Linked DNA regions of Homo sapiens: region 2 is linked to region 1. Evidence: promoter capture Hi-C in human tissues and cell types (Jung and others, 2019). All regions are on one chromosome and are shown on one strand. Each heading gives the region's core, a stretch centred on a gene start or on the middle of the fragment in contact. The rest is flanking DNA. Distances are from core to core; before and after follow the strand shown. Region 1 holds the start of CX3CR1 (C-X3-C motif chemokine receptor 1). Region 2 overlaps WDR48 (WD repeat domain 48).

Region 1 (3,796 bases), core at 262-2,761:
GATGCCCTGAGCAATGCAAGCTTTCTTGCCTGCTTTCACGTGGTTCAATTTTCCTTTTTTTTTGGCTCAATTTTTTTCTGCCTCAAGTTTTCTACCTCAAGTATTTCAAAAATTAATTTTTTTTTCTTTTCTTTTTTTTTTTTTTTTTTGTGGAGTGGGTGTTGAAAGAATCCTAAACTTTCTTAGCCATTCTCTGGACTGAGCTATAAACTCACAAAGCAAGGATTGCAGGCTCTGTGAGGCTGTGATTGCCAGAGGCAAGGCAAGAGAAATAACAAGCCGTGGTCAGTCCTCAGCTGGGGCCTCTGATGGATTTCCTCCTGTCTTGCACTCATAATTTCTTTCTGAAGACCATGTTTTCCACCCACACAAACCTGAGCCTGAGTATCCTCACAATGGTTATAACAACATATATCAAAATTGAACACTAAATTTGTGCCAGGAATTTATTAATGGAGAAACCCCGCCTCTACTAAAAATACAAAATTAGCCGGGCGGTGGTACATGCCTATAATCCCAGCTACTTGGGAGGCTGAGGCAGGAGAATCACTTGAACCCAGGAGGCAGAGGTTGCAGTGAGCCGAGACTGTGCCATTGCACTCCAGCTTAGGCAACAAGAGCAAAACTCCGTCTCAAAAAACAAAACACAAACAAGAAAGAAAACCCAAAAAACAAAAAACAAACAAAAACCCATAGATGGTACAAAAAGTGGAAGAAAAAGGAAAAAAAAACCCATGAAACTATCTGCAATGCAGTTTCCTAGAATCAACCACAGTAATCTTTTAGCTTTTCTCTATCTAAATGTTATACATATTTTATATTTATATTAAGTGCATTTATATTTATATTAAAATACAGATACAAATTTAAAAACTCTTTATTATTAAATTTTCAAATAAAAAGCAACTTTTCAAATAAAAGCAGCGAGAACCTCCTTATACCCAACACCTGGCTTCAACTATTAGCAACCCATGGTCAATATTTCCTCTATTTCCCACTTAATGTCTCTACTGAATTATTTAATTTCACCCATAAACACTTGTGTGCATCTCTAAAAGTTAAGGACTCTTTTTTGAAAAAGACTTTAATACAATTTCTCATCTCAAAAAATTAGCAATAATTCCTCAACAGCATCCAGATGCAATTTTTCATGCTTTTTTCAGTTAGTTTAAAATCATGAGCTTTTCTCCATGTCTCTAAAATGTAATTACTAATGCTTCTAATACTATTCCACCAGGTTGAGTGTATTATAAATGATCTGATCACCCCTTGCCTCCCACTCTTCCATCCCCTTGGACATATTTAGGCTACAACATCCCCAGGAAAATGGTTTCCATTGTCTGCACGTAAGCAAACAGGCATTATTAACCTATTAGCTGTCCACTGCTCCACCCCACCCACAGGTACCCAACTAGTCCTGTGCACCTACCTGGCGTGGACTGCCAAGGGAACCTCTGGATCTGCCAGTCAGCCACCCTGTCCTGCTCAGACTTTACCAGAGACGAGTATTTCCCTTTCCTTCCCTCTAAGAGCATTTTATTTGCAGAGTTAGCCAATAGTATCTTGTTTCCTGTAAGGGAGACTATCTTTAGATGCTGCCACAGGCAAGCTCAGATACTCCAGGGTGGAGGCCAGCTGCCAACAGGAGGGCCTGACTTTATAAACCTGGAAGATCTAAACCTCAGGGAAGACTGCGGAGCTGGAGGGAGAGAGGTGCCACTTACCCCAACCTGGAGGTGGGGGGCAGGGAGCAGGCCCTGCAGTCAGCAAAGCACAGCACAGTCAGCTCTCATTAATGGGGAGCCTTCAGGAAGCTGGGAGAGCTCATGGGGCCCTCAGCTTCCCTGCCCACGAGAGGGAGCCCAGAGTACTCACTGGACCACACTGGGGCACACACAGCTCTTCTCCTCAAAGTGCAGTCCCAGGCACTGGGAGCTTATTAAAGACAGCACCTCAAGCCCTGCCCTATATCTGCTGAATTAGAATCTGCATTTTAATGAAATTCTTAGAAGAGTGATATGCATACTAAGTTTGAGAAGCTTTGGTACTGAAGGCATCTAGTGAGTACCTTGCACCTTGTAGATGCTCGGTAAATATTTTTTTCCTCACCTCTCTGCCCCAAGGCATTTAGTGGCTCCCTATACCCATCAGTCAAGGCTGAGGACACAGCTTTCACCCAGGACCTGGCCTATGCTCCTTTCACAGTCTCTCCCCCTGCCACTCTTGCCCTGCAGTGGGGAGCCTGGTGGGCTCCGGCATCCAGCCATGCTTCTGCTCCCTGGCCTGGCCAGCTTGGGGCGACTGCAACGTGAATCTCAACTGCCACTGCCTCATCACCTTCCGATCACTTCATTACCTGCCTGACCCCTGGCATATGCTATATAATTCTGATCCATCCCTAACTAGGGCCTGGCCCATGGTGGCCTTCAATACACCTTCATTAAATGGTCTGTGACCCCTTCAAGGCCCCTCTGGCCCCTTGCTGCCCACATCCCAGCCACATCCGGTGCTCCCTTACCTCTAGTCGCTGTGGTGTTCCGAGGACAGCGGGTGCTCTGTGTGCTCCCCACCTTGCCCCTCCTCACCTCCCCCAACCCCAGGACAGAGCTGGGGGCTGCAGTGCAGTGCTGCGGGCTTGGTGGCCTGCTCATGGTGGAAGAAGTCCACCAGCAGTTTTCTTTCTTTGTTCTTGGTCTCAGTGTTTGGCCACCTTTCCCTGCCTTTGGCCAGAAGGCCACAGGACAAAAGCAGAGTCAGGCCGCTCCCCATCCACTTTCTGACACTGGCCCCTCCCCACCCCACACCACCCCTTGATACCTCTCCTGGGGTCCACTCAGCTGGGCTGGCTGCCTCAGCCCCTTCCTTGCCTCTGACTCCCCTCCTCTTCTGAGGGCTCCTTTCTTGGATCTGGCCAAGACTCTCCCTCTCTTCCTGTCCCACACTCTTGACGACAGTCTCATCCACCCCACATCAGTAATCCCCTCCGTGTTCATGAGCACACATCTCTACCTCCATCCAGGGCCTGGATAATTTCCCAAGCCCATCTAACCTTCTCCGTTCTCTGTCTTTCCTCTCACCACTTACCCCACTGGCCATTCTCCACCCAGAAGCCAGAGAGCTCTTCCTGAAATCCAAGTCTGCCAACTTAAACGCCTCCAGGGGTTCTCTCATCCTGGTTTAAGTCCACGGCCTGGTAAGCACGGCCCGCCCCTTCTCACTTCCTACTGTGCTCTCACCACTTCCACTTCCCCCAACATGCCTGTGCCCGTGGCAGGCTCTCTTCCCTTCCCAACTCACCTGGCTGTCCTGTCCAGGACGTGATTTTACCCTCTTTTAAAGCTAACGGCTATGTTCCACAGCTGCTAGCAGCACAGGGCTTCATGCTTGGCAAGCATGAGAACCAGCGTCCAGTGTCAGTTGCCTTGCCCCCAAGCCCCACAGAGTGATGCCATGGCTTGGATAGATACCTGTGAATGTGTGAGGGATGGGGAGGTTATAGGAAGGGAACTCTGACCTTGGGTAACGTGCCATTTTATAGCAAGCAGTAAGCAAGTCGGTTATTTGGCCCTGAGCGAGATGTCAGCTCATCCTTCAAGGTTGCTCACTGCAAACTCAACCCTGCAAGATGGACCAAGTGAAGAGCATTAGTGCTTTGCATTCTTGACACACTCATGGAGACAGAAAGAGCCTTGGCAGCCTTCCCCCTCCCTCCACGCCTCCTTGGGCCTCTGTAAAGGAGTCTCTGGCTCAGCGCTGGGAATTCTCTCCTCCCTGAACTCTTGTTCAACCCCTCCCC
Region 2 (3,649 bases), core at 925-3,424, 200 kb before region 1:
AAACCTTTAGAATATTCATTCAGGAAGCAAAAGATGGGAAACCAAAGTTAATGCAAAATGAGACTAATACAGAGACTTCCTGTCATCATTTTGACTTTTCCCAGTGGATAAAGCTGTTGTCCCTCAACAATTTTCCACTAGTACCCCCTTGACATGAAGAGCCCTTTAATCCATAATGTATTATTAAAATCAGATAGTTTTTCTTTGAATGTTTATAAATGGACATAAATAATTTATGGGACTTGAATTGCTTTAGATATAATTATATAGTCTTTAGGTTTGCCTTTTCCTTTCTAGTAGCTAGTACAGTTTATGTTCCTGTTAGATACCAGTTAACAATTGTTACCACACCATGAATTTAAATGTAGAAAGATTGTTTTACCAATTGTGTTTTTTTTTCCCATTAGGGGGTGCTAGTATTATTCAGTGCCACATTCTTAATGATAAGAGACATATATTAACCAAAGATACCAATAATAATGTGGCATATTGGGATGTATTGAAGGTGAGTATTTTTTTTGGGCTAAATATAGGTTGTTAGATTGTATACCCCCTTTATTTTTTATTTTTTGTATGTGATAAGATAATATAAATTAAGATGTAATTGCAGTAATACTTTATGGGGTGGTATATACTTTCTTATATGAATATTAGATAAGATCATAATTCATCTTTTTAAGTAAATAAACTGTTTAAATGGAATCATTTTCTCTGGTTAGTGTATTGCAGACAATCTTATATGCTGCCTTACCTTAAAAGTCTCATCCTTGTAGCTATTGACATCTTAAGCCAGATAATTATTTGGAGGTGGAGGAGGGGGCAGGTAGGGGGCTATTCCATGCATTGTAGGATGTTTAGAACATCTCTAGCCTCCACCCAGTAGTTGCCAGTAATACCCCTCCCTCCCCCTAGGTGTGGCAACCACAAGTGTCTCCACATGTTGCCAGATGTTTGGAGGGAGGAAGAATGGTGTAAAATCACCCTAGATGAGACACACTGGAGTGCACACAATAAGGTTGGCTGTTTCTTAGGATTTATAGACATCACTATGAGCATTAGTTACAACTCTGGGTCATGTTACAATAACTCCTTCTGGGACAGTTGAAATGCATGAAGCTATTCAATCACATTCCAAATAGCAGTGAAGCATTTGTAGGCAGATTAAAAAGTTAGTCTGCTTTTATCATTCTCACAAGTCTCTCTCTTAGTGTTGTTGGTATACTTGTTCATTTGTTCAACAGATATTTCCTAGATGGAATGACTGTCATGTGCAAAGAACCATGCTTGAGGGTCATAAATGATGAAAAAGTCTTTACCTTGATCCCCTTTGGTAGGAGGGACAAGTGGAATGGGAAAACCTTATAGATAAAGAAGGAACAGATTTCAGGATAGCTTATGGATGAGGGAAGTCAGGAGAGCTTCGTGGTGGAGAAATCATTTGAACAAGGACTTAAAGGTTTCCAGTAGATGCATAATGGGAGTAGAAGGAAGAGCATTTCAGGAAAAGGAAATGAATGGCAGAGGCACAGGAAAAGGATGGTATGTGCTTATTTGGGGCAAGGTGAGCAGTTTTGTTTATTTGGAGACCAGAGTAAATATAAGGAAGTAACAGGGGTGTAAGATTGAAAAATGACATTTAGGTCATTTCCCAAAGAGCCTTAAGCTGCAGGACCCAAAGTTGGCCTTTCTTTTGTACTCCTAGAAGAACCTTAGATAATTTTAGAGCAGGAAAATCTCATGTTGAGGGCAGTAGTTGTTAGTGTATGTAATGGGAAACTGAAAGCTGGAAGACGTCATGATTGGAGATCTAAAGGAAGAGACATGAGCACCATAGGAAAGGTTAAATAAATAAATAAAAATAAAGGACGAGACAGGTGTTGAGCTTATTATAAAGGAAGAATTGAAAACAGCTGGTATTTTGGTTAAGCTCCTGGTTATAAAGAAAAGAGATTCACTTAATGAACTAAAGAATAAGACAGGCAAGTTTCTTGCTAGGAAAAAGGGACTGTCACTGAACAGAAACCTTGGCTTGACTACCATTTTTGCTCCCTGTGGGACATCTATGTGGGAAGTCCATTATGAAACAGTTGTTTGGTGAGCATTGCTTCAGAATGAGAGGCTTTAGTTCTTTGAGTAGAAAGTTTAGTTGCGGCAAGCTTCAAAAATCTGATTAGTTTTTCTCTACAATAGAGAGATGCCTGTTGGGGGTGGGGGTAGAAACACATTGATTTCAGAGAGGGTTCTCTTGGGGACTGGCAGGATCCAGAACAGCCCTAAGAAACTCATCAGCAGAAATTATTGATTCTTCACTTTGATACTCTACCACAAATGTGTCCCTAACTCTGTCCTGTGGCTGGACTTCGCCTCATGCTGCCCAGGACCTAATTGTCTCCAGAATACCCAAGAGAATCTGATCAGGCCAGCTCCTCTTTGAGAGTTGACCTATCTGTTTTCTGTATATGGGTCTGTTGCCCACTCTTGGTCTGGTTAACTGAGGCCTGAGTAGAATCCTGCTGTCTGAATGGGAGGTACTTCTACTTAGATGGGGCCAGCATACATCATGATTGGCATTTCTGTGTACCTAGCAGCTTCCCATATCTAGACCTTGAAGTTTTGATATCAAATGATCTGGTGTAATAGACGTGGCTAAACAGTGTGGGACAGTCAGGAGTTTTTTAGGAACATTGGCTTGGGAGTTGGACAGAGCTGCATTCTAACCTTGGCTGTGCCAAATACTCGCCAAGTGATCTACGGAATATGCTAGGGAACATCTCTAAAATGGTTTCTTCATTCCTAAAATGTCGGGGGTGCCTATTATTGGTGATGTTGAGAAGCACAGTGTCTGGTACATAATAGGAGGCTGTTGCACTAATACAGGTGAAAGGTGATATTTGTCTAGACTAGGGTGGGAACAAGGGGGATGGAAAAAATCGAATGATTAGGAAAATATTTAGGCCTGTGAACAAGAGTGATACTTTTTTTTTTCTTTTTTTTTTGATACGGAGTCTCATTCTGTTGCCCCGGCTGGAGTGCAGTGGCGCAACCTCAGCTCACTGCAACCTCTGACTCCCTGGTTCAAGCGATTCTCCTGCCTCAGCCTCCCGAGTAGCTGGGATTACAGGCATGCACCACCACATCGGGCTAATTTTTGTATTTTTAGTAGAGACAGCGTTTCTCCTTGTTGGCCAGGATGGTCTCGATCTCCTGGCCTCATGATCTGCCCGTCTTGGCCTCCCACAGTGCTGAGATTACAGGCATGAGCAACCGTGCCTGCCCACAGGAGTGATACTTTAATGAAAGGAGTATGAGGAAAGGAAAAAGCAAGAATGAGTCCCAGATTTCTTGATTGTCCAGTTTGGTGAATGGAAGTGATGTAGGGAATGTAAGATGAAAAACAGGTTATCAGGAGAAAAGGACATGCTGAGAAAGATGTTGAATTTGAGTTTCTGTGGGATATCTGAATAGAGGTGTTTGGTGGGCAGACAGCTGTACAGTCTCATGCACAGTTAAAGAACTGGGCTGGAGAAAAAGGCTCAGCAGTCATCAGCTTGTGGGTTACAGTTTGATGTCATAGGAAATGTCAGAGTTTCCAAGGGACATATGTAGACTGAGAAGAAACTAAGTCATCAGTCTTTCAGGGATGTTGGGA

What was found. The method cuts DNA at HindIII sites, captures the fragments that hold promoters and counts their contacts. A contact is called where the count stands out against the background at its distance.
Region 2: a fragment that was not itself captured here is called in contact with the fragment with the promoter of CX3CR1 in region 1 in 1 of the 25 tissues and cell types used here (adrenal gland).

What each region holds. Positions count from the first base shown.
Region 1 is chr3:39,278,525-39,282,320 of GRCh38, forward strand. It overlaps CX3CR1 (C-X3-C motif chemokine receptor 1), which reads right to left and starts at 1,512. Exons shown (of 2, transcript NM_001337.4): 1 at 1,430-1,512. The HindIII fragment of the contact is 7,786 bases long and covers 1,030-3,796 here.
Region 2 is chr3:39,079,304-39,082,952 of GRCh38, forward strand. It overlaps WDR48 (WD repeat domain 48), which reads left to right. Exons shown (of 19, transcript NM_020839.4): 11 at 408-505. Among named protein-coding and RNA genes, the nearest start is that of GORASP1, 26 kb to the right of the region's middle. The HindIII fragment of the contact is 3,405 bases long and covers 473-3,649 here.